Regions from separate parts of the Homo sapiens genome. Here region 1 is linked to region 2. The links are contacts of gene promoters, found by promoter capture Hi-C in blood cells and fetal thymus (Javierre and others, 2016). All regions are on one chromosome and are shown on one strand. Each heading gives the region's core, a stretch centred on a gene start or on the middle of the fragment in contact. The rest is flanking DNA. Distances are from core to core; before and after follow the strand shown. Region 1 overlaps LOC124901018 (a long non-coding RNA gene). Region 2 holds the start of ACOT12 (acyl-CoA thioesterase 12).

Region 1 (4,500 bases), core at 182-2,681, 500 kb before region 2:
TTTACATCATGTTCGGTAAGATGTTTCTAAAATGTACTCTATATTTCTCAGTCTTCTTAAACAGTTTATTTAACAGAATTTAATGTTTTCTGAATAATACATGGTAATTTTTAGAAACATCAGTTATTATTCTGAACAAAAAGAATTTCCTATTCATCATAACAGAATTGGCTACATAATGTGCAGGGCCTAATGCAAAATGAAAATGTGCAGCCTCTTGTTGAAAACTTATTAAGAATTTCAAGATGACGACAGCAGAGAATTAAAACAGGCACAGGGTCCTTTGTGATTGCACAGGCCACATACTATGCCGTTGACCCTGTATCATGTCCACATAGTGTCTTGCACATAATAGGAATTCATAAGCACTTACTAAATAATATCTTTAAGACCTAGTGAGTGCTGTAGGGCTCATTTCTTTAAGTGAATTCAAATGTGGTAAAAATAAAAACAACACTAATTGAATTATATGTCAGGCTTTACATGTGTTTTCCCATCAGATCCTCAGAAAAGCTGGTGAGTTTCATTTAGGATTTCATGGCTGCATATAACAAACTCAGTTGGAGTGGCTTAATCAAACACAGGTTTTATTTTTATATACTTGATAAGGGTCTAGTATCCAGAACATCATTTAACCAAGGGGAAAAGTTCTGAGAAATGCTTTGTTAGAAGATTTCATCATTGTGCAAAGATCATACAGTGTACTAACACAAAGCTAGATGGTACAGGTTACTACACACCTAGGCTATATGGTATAACCTGTACTGAATACTGTACAATTGTAACACAATGTTGAGTATTTGTGTATCTAAATTATCTAAACATAGGAAAGGTATAGTAAAAGTATACTATTATTTTAACATAATCCTAGGGGACCAACATGGTATATGCAGGCCTATCACCATTAACTGAAACATTATGTGGTTATGTGGCATGGGGCATCACTGTATAAACCTAACAGAGTGGAAAACAGATGTTTAAATAGAAACTTATTTACAATGTTCATAGCAGTTCTGTTTACAATAGCTGAAAGGTAAAAACAACCCAAATGTCCATCAACAGATGAATGGACAAACAAAATGTTATATATCCAAACAATGGAATATTATTCAGCTATAAAAAGAAATACTGATATGTGCTACACGAGTGAGTCTTGAAAACATACCGAGTGAAATAAGCCAGAGACACAAGGCCACATATTATATCATTTCAGTTACATGAAATGTCCAGAAAAGGCAAATCTATAGAGACAGAAAGTATATTAGTGGTTTCCAGGGGCCTGGGAAGATTGGGAAATAGGGAGTGACAGCTTAATAGGTATAGAGTGTCTGTTTGAGATGATGAAAAAGTTCTGGAACTAGATAATGATACTGATTGTGCAATGTTGTAAATGTGCAATGTTGTAAATGTACTTAATGACACTGAATGGTATACTTATGATAAATTTGTTATGTCTATTTTACCACAATTTCAAAAAAGGAATGAAGTACTGACATATCATACAGTACTTCACAGATGTAAACATACAACATTGATGAAACTTGAGAATATTATGCTAACTGAAAGAAAGCCGATCACAAAAGGCCACATATTGCACAGTTCTATTTATATGAAATTTCCAGAATAGGAAAATCCATGGAGACAGAAAGGAGATGCGTGGTTGCCTAGGGTTGGAGGAAGAGGAGACTAGGGAGTGACTGCTAAGGAGTTTGAGTTTTTTGAGGGGTGATAAAAATGTTCTGGAATTACATGGTCGAGATGTTTGCACTACCGTGTGTGTGTGTGTGTGTGTGTATAAAACCACTGAATTGTACACTTTAAACGATTGAATTTTAGGCTGGGTATGGTGGCTCACTTCTGTAATCCAGCACTTTGGGAGGCTGAGGCAGGCGGATCACCTGAGGTCAGGAGTTCGAGACCAGTCTGGCCAACATGGTGAAACCCCATCCTTACTAAAAATACAAAAAAAAAAAAAAAAAATTAGCCAGGCGTGGTGGCATGTGCCTGTAGTCCCAGCTGCTCAGAAGACTGAGACAGGAGAATCACTTGAACCCAGGAGGCAGTGGTTGCCGTGAGCCAAGATCACGCCACTGCACTACAGCCTCGGTGACAGAGCAAGACTCTATCTCAATTAAAAAAAAAAAAAAGATTGAATTTTAGGTATGTGAATTATAATTCAGTAAAAGCTGTTATACAAAAGAGTAAAAGGTCCAAATACCATGCATGACATTTTGAAAAGTTTTGGAGTTTGGAGGCCTTTTTTGCTCAATTTCTGGGTGCTACAAATATACCAGTTGATTGACTTCACCGCATAAGGGACCTTCAGATAAATGAGCTATTTCTGAATAAAAGCAAGAAATTCAAACAGAAGGGTCCAGGGGAGAGGGGAACAGTTCCTTTTGTTGCAGTCTTTGTCTCTGCTTCTCTCATTTCTGTAATGCCCTTAGAACTCTCTGTTGGCCTTCCTAAGTCCTAGAATTCAATTTGAGAAACACTGGCCAAAGACACTTGGTAGAGCCAAGATAACATGTATCAGTGCCTCATATTTAATCTAAAGGACTATAACAGGTCATCTGAAAGTATTGGAAAGGGTCTAGAGTTGTTTGACACTCTCATTAGAAACCTAGTGATGAAGAGAGACATGTTGAAGAAATCTAATTGCCTAGAGGTGTTAAATGCTTTTGTAGATAAATATCTTGGTTCTGTACTTTAAAAATAAGGTAACCTGCAAAGTCATTCACAAGATTCATATTGAGGAACTTGAACAAACTGAAGCCCAGTGATATTACTAGAGACCTATAGCATATGAGGAAAGAGAAAAGCTCAAAGAAGTGACTCATTCTGGGGAAAAAACTCAGAAAGATCACCACTTACAATGAGCATAAGCTTCTATGCCAAAACCAAGCTCAGGGGAGAGGACCATGCCATCAAGAAGAGAGGCATTGCCCAGAACAGAGTTTTCTTCAAGAGACTTATGCTACCTCAGGAGTGGGTTGCTTCCAATGTAGGGCAATCCTAATTTTTGCAAATTAGAATTAAGGCTTTTTGAAATTATGTCATATAAAATAATTAACAAAGCGTTCATGGACAAAATGTAAAGAATGCAAATTCTGAAACAACATCTAAATGTATTAAAAAATCTTAATTTCCAAGCTTTTATATAAGGGATTTGTAATTGGGTTTATGCTATTGCTATAGTAGTGCCATTTTCAGCTGATAAATATAAATACTTGTCCTTTTTCTTTTGGTCATGATTAGGCTGAAATTAACAAACCTTTGAATTACACAATCTCTTTTGAAGTTCCTCCTTCATGGAATGCTACTGCTCTGTACCTCCAAGAAGAAACTGAGGATGGGAATTCCTAATTCCATGGATCTCAATAGAATAATGAGAGTGGAGGCTCCACAGAGGGCTTCTTCTCCAATGCAATCAGGACTGGGAGTTGGCTGGTTAATGAAAGATAATGGTTAAAGAGGTGAATCATAAGAAAAAAACATAGACAGACATATGAATGCTTGTTTTAAATTAAAGTAACTGTGTCCAGCTTTTGATATAAGGCCCAGGCTTTTTATTATACTCGAATGTCAGTGAGTTGACTGGAGTTCTGCTTCGTCTTTCTTGCATAAAGTGCACTCATTATACAACCTCTGCTGTTTCCAATGATAACTCATTTAAAGGGAACCAAAAACTTAAAGATACTATTGGACAAACTGAATGCAGAATCCTTCTAGAATTTTATAATAGCCTTTCTATTTTAATCATTGCCCAGCAACTTACTTTTATTGAATCTTGTCAAAATATTCGACCAGGTTTTCAAAAGGACAGCCTTGATTTTTGCATTCATATTTCATATATTTATATAATATTTAACTTAATTTACTTATGAATAATGATAAGTTTAGCTGATATGCAACAGTCTGGGGAACAAATAGTCTTGAGTCTGGATAAGTATAGAACTCAACTATGGTAGCAGAAATACACGGAGGGTCTAGAGAGTGGCCTTCTAGCTGTGGTGCTCAGAGTGCAGTATCAATCACAATGTTTCCCTGCAATATGCAGCATATCTCAGCAATGTGTCAGGGCCAGTTGGAACTGCTCTGCAACACCAGATCTGCACTGCCTCCCTTCCTCTTCCTCACCGTTGAACATTTAGTTGCAAGCCCTCCTTCCTCAAACAGCTGAGCTACTGGTGGTGGCCAAGCCAGACCTGCCCTGCTCAGTGCCTCCTAGGCTTCTTGGCCCACCAGCTGTGTGATAGCATGGGCCCACAGACTGGTCCTCATCACAATGTTGTGGTGTGACTGTTCACTTTACCGTGCCCAGGGATGATTCTATAATCCGTGGCTGGTTTGGCAACATAGTTCTGTAACATAAGAAACCGTTCCTGACCCCTGAATGCTAGATCCAGATGACAATGCTAGCCCAGAGCCATTTTTGCCACCATATAAAGTAATTTTGTTGGAGTCTCAGGATGACATAGTAGGAGGTACAAAATACAG
Region 2 (4,901 bases), core at 1,352-3,851:
TGCTTACCTGGGGACTACACTTTGATGCCCCTACCAGTGCTTTCTGCAATTTCCTCCCAAATAAACTGTCTGCTCTCAAATTCTTGTCAGAGGCTCTGTTTCTGGAGAAAGCATTTTTTTTTCTACCTCTCTACTTATATTCCAGGTTCCTTGTTCTTAGTTTTCACAAAACCCAGCCACTACCTTACAATGTGACCCAAGGAAATCACTTCATTTCCTCATCTCTAGAATAAGAGTTTAGACTGTCCAGTTCCCCTTCCCACTCCAGCATTTTAAAGATTTTCTCGTTATTCTAGTGATTGTGGAACTTCCCACACTTTTTTGGATCAGCTTTCCTGCTCCTGTGTACAAACTTTTAAAATCAAGCTGGCTTCACATTCTGCTTATCTTCAAAAATGTCTCTAAACACAAATGAAACTCGACCTTTTATTCAAGCATAATAGTAAAAATCTTTGACACCAGAGAGAAATGGAGGTAACAAATGTTCATGCATGCAGATGACATTTTCATTGTAAAAGGAAGAAAGGGACCATTCAGAAAAACACAAGAATAGTAAAATGAAAATTAGTATGAAACCAACAAAAGATATGAAACCATAATCTGAAGACATCTAAACAGGAGATAATAAAGATAAGAAAACACAGCAGTGAATTTGTGTACCATGTCTGCTTTTAAAGCAACATCTCTAGACAAACACACAAATATACACATGCTGTCCCCTTCAAGAAAATCATTTTGGAAACCCATCCTCTTACACTTATGCGTAAACATTTTTGAAATTTCTTCTTCTTTTTCTTTTTTTTTTTTTTTTTTTTTGAGACTCAAGCTCACTGCAACCTCTGCCTTTTTGGCTCAAGTGATCCTCCTGCCTCAGCCTCCTGAGTAGCTGGGACCACAGGGACACACCACCACGCCCAACTAATTCTTGTATTTTTGGTAGAGAGAGGGTTTCACCATGTTGCTCAGGCTGGTCTTGAACTCCTGAGCTCAAGCAATTTACCTAACCTCAGCCTCCCAAAGTGCTGGGATTATAGGCATGAGCCACTGCGCCTGGCCTAAGTTTCTTTAGTTTATAAGAAACCAAGTATACAACCATACACATAATTCAATATCACCACTTTAGTCACCACTTTTTACCCAAAATAATACAACCCAGCCTAAATGCAAACTTTATTTCCAGTAATTTAATAAACTTCCCAAATATTAATACAGTTCACTCATGTAACTGTCAGCTATTGCTGCATAACAGACAACCCCCAAAATCACAGTGGCACACAACAATAAGTAGTTATGTCTCACTCAAGAGTCTTCATGTCTGCTGGGTTGCTCTGCTTCAGGCTGTGAGTCCTCCGGCTGGCTGAGATGCCTCTGCAATACGTGAATTCAGTCTGGTACCCAGATGCTAATAGGCAGCTACTTGACCTCATGGCAGAGGTCAGATGTTCCTGAGAACAGAAACACGGTGCTTCTAAAGGCAAGACTGGTGGTACACTGCTATCTCTCCACATTCCATTCTTAAGCAAGCCACATGGCCAAGTCCAAGGTCAATAAATGACTCTCACAGAGTTATTGGTAGATGGAGTGAATATATGATAATCTATCAATTCCTAAATTATGATTTCTCAATACAGAAGTCATTAAAAAGGCATTTTCCAAGGAGGAGTGCCAAAAGCGATGTAATAACGTTATCATTGAAATAAGTGTATAGCTACATAATGGGACCATCTTGGATGCACAAGTTTTTGTTTGCTTTTAAAAGTTATTTTAATGCCTTTTATATAAGTCAGACTTCATGCTTGCCTCAGTGAAAACATGCAATTCCTATTTATGATTGGATTGTCCTGAAACCTATACACAGAGGCTCCTAAAAGCTATCAAGTCAACATTTCCTTATTTCTTCACTTTCATTTTAAAAAAAATCTTTTAAAAAGGAAAGAAAAATACCAGAATCTCCATTCTGATGTCGCCATGCTGAGGCTTGGCAAGCCAAAAATATAAGGATGAAAAGGCACCACCAATTCGTGAGAGTCGGCTAGGCTTCTTCGTGCTATTCCGGACAGTCAGGAGCCCTGGGTTCCAGCCAGGTGATCGGGTCGCTTATCGGCTCCTATCACCTCAGCTGCTTGCTCCACTTCTCCGGGTTTCCAGTTCTCCATCGTAAATGTGCTCCCTGGAGCAGCCTCCCCTGACAGTCAGACATCCACCAATCCATTAGATGCTGGAGGTTTTCTGGAGACACTGTTTCCCTAATGAGGACTGCTTTGTACAGTCACTGATAGCAGCTCTAGAAAGTGTAACAGCTTTTTTATCTCAAAAGCTGTTCCTCGCGCTCCGGCTCTCGGGGAGCCGCCTTCCAGACCTGTCTACCCGGGAGCCCCCTCCCCGCGCACTTCCCAGACTTCTCCTGAGACCCGAGAGCGCTGGTTTTCCCCCACTCGCGATAGTCCTGGGATGACAGTGCGGGCCCCCTCACTCGCAGCTCCCACCACCTGGCGGCCAGGGGTTCGCGGCCCGGGCGGGCGGCGCCAGTGCCCTCTGGAGCTGGGCGGGGAGGGCGGGGCGGGCGGAGCGGGCATGGTGGGGTGTCGGGGGCCGCAGGCGTAGCGCTCTCGCCCTGGCCATGGAGCGGCCGGCGCCCGGCGAGGTGGTCATGAGCCAAGCCATCCAGCCGGCGCACGCCACTGCGCGCGGCGAGCTGAGCGCGGGGCAGCTGCTCAAGTGGATCGACACCACCGCCTGCCTGGCGGGTAGGCGGGCGCCGGGGCTGCGGGGAGGCGCGGGACCGGGGCTGCGGGAGCGGCGGCGGCTGGGGGCTGGGGGGGGTAGGAAGGCGAGGAAGGTACTTGCGGAGAGCTGAACCCTGCGCAGCCAGGGATAGGGGTGTTGCAACAGTGCGCCCGCGCTGGGCATGGCCGAGACCGGTGGTTCCCAAATGTGTGGCTCTCGGGACTCCTTCATTCCATTAAACAAGTGAGGAGCCCAGAGAGCTTCTGCGGGGTTTTTTGTTTGTTTGTTTGTTGTTGTTGTTGTTGAGCTCTCTCCCGGGCTGGAGAGCGGTGGCGCCATCAGAGGTCGCTGCAGCCTCGACCTCCTGAGCTAAAGCGATCCTCCCACCTCAGCCTCCAGAGTAACTAGGACCACAGACGCACGCCACCAGGCCCAGCTGACTTTGGGAGTTTTGTTTTGTTTTGCTTTTGTAGAGATGGGGTCTCACTATGTTGCCCAGGCTGGTCTCAAACGCCTGGACTCAAGTGATCCTGAAGTGTTGGGAGGCCCCAGCCTCCCAAAGTGTTGGGATTACAGGCATGAGCCACCGCACCCAGGCAGCTTTTGTTTATGTAGGCTATTTATATCACATTTACCGTAATGGAAATTTAAAATTTTTAATTATTTTTAAAAAAGAAATGGACTACATTGTTAGCATAACATTTTTAATTAAGAAATAACTATTTTCCACAAGAACAAAAGTGTAGCGAGAGGAGTGGTGATAAAGGTTACATCCTGGCGAGTCTCTCTAAGGTCTGGCTAGTGGAGGATTGCTGACTACTCATACCTGCTTCTGCATTCACCCTGCTGCTACCACACCCTTATGTAGTCTCTGGAAAACTCCACTGTGTTCTTGTGACAGAATGACAGTAAAAATGGCAAAAACATTTATTAAGGACTGAATTATATCCCCCACACCACCCACCGAAATTTATACACTGAAGTCCTAACCCCTGGTGTGACTCTATTTGGAGTGAAGAATTAAGGCTAATGAGGTCATAAGAGTGGAATCCTGGTCCCATACAATTAATGTCCTTATAAGAAGAGACACTGGAGAGCTTCTCTCTGCCATGTGAGGCCACAGCAGGAAGACAGCCATCCACAGGCCAGGAAGAGAGCCCTCACTAGGACCTACAATGGGCAAGCACCTCGATTTGGAACTTCCCTGCCTCCACAATTGTGAGAAATCAATGATTCGTTTAAGCCTTTTTTTTTTTTAACAGGATTTGAGATTGGTTATATTAACAATGGAAACATGAATACAAAATTAATCCACACATAGGAAAAAAGAATAATACATAAACCACTGAGGTTGCTAATAATAATGATGCCTGTTTCCAAGGCAACTGAATACATTATGAGACCACTGAAGTGACTTTTAGTTACCTTGCTTAGTGCCTCTGTCTTGTGATGGAGAAACAATGGCCCACCTGCAATTGTCATCATTTCTATGACCTGACATCTTTGGAAACCATGGAAAGATCCAATTGACAATCAATTACTCTATACCTTAATAGTTACATTACTATTAGTAGTATAATATTAATAACTGATAATGTTACTAATATTAAGAAAACCTGTATGATAAAGTTGGTTTGGGCAACATGAATAACGCCTGTGTTAAACACTTTATGGTGACCTGAGGCACCACATAAGCAGGGGACATTATTTAGCCAAGGTGTAACTGAATCTGTGTAGTAATATAAAACTGATTTCTCTGGGATTTTCTCAGAGTTTTTTATAGGCCAGCATTATCTCTTTAGCCACATTACTGCAATCCCAGTCATGGCCCCCAAGGCATTTCTATGACCCCTAGGCACTGCTGGATTCCAAAATGTCTTCTCAATATTTAAAGAAAGATGAAATATTCTCACTATCCTTACTTCTGTCAGTGGCCCCATTATTTTTCCAGTCCCTTAAGTCTAAAGTCTTGAAGCTATCTGAGTAATCCTCTATCTCACACGTCCATGTATTATTTTGGAACATCTCACACACACGGTTTTTTATTTGTGAATCTTTTCCAGGGTTTACTATCTCTGGAGTGGCACCCAACTCATCTAGTTGAGCAAGTCAAAAGTCTAGGAGTCATCCTTGATATTTCTCTCTCCACCTTACTTCTCACTTCACATACTCTA

The links. The method cuts DNA at HindIII sites, captures the fragments that hold promoters and counts their contacts. A CHiCAGO score of 5 or more calls a contact.
Region 1: a contact is called between a fragment that was not itself captured here and the fragment with the promoter of ACOT12 in region 2, in 2 of 17 cell types (endothelial precursors and M0 macrophages). The highest score is 5.4, in endothelial precursors.

The regions. Positions count from the first base shown.
Region 1 is chr5:81,893,824-81,898,323 of GRCh38, reverse strand. It overlaps LOC124901018 (a long non-coding RNA gene), which reads right to left. Exons shown (of 6, transcript XR_007058843.1): 5 at 3,275-3,447. Among named protein-coding and RNA genes, the nearest start is that of ATG10, 76 kb to the left of the region's middle. The HindIII fragment of the contact is 2,914 bases long and covers 1-2,888 here.
Region 2 is chr5:81,391,834-81,396,734 of GRCh38, reverse strand. It overlaps ACOT12 (acyl-CoA thioesterase 12), which reads left to right and starts at 2,601. Exons shown (of 15, transcript NM_130767.3): 1 at 2,601-2,747. The coding sequence starts at 2,621. The HindIII fragment of the contact is 6,480 bases long and covers 1-4,901 here.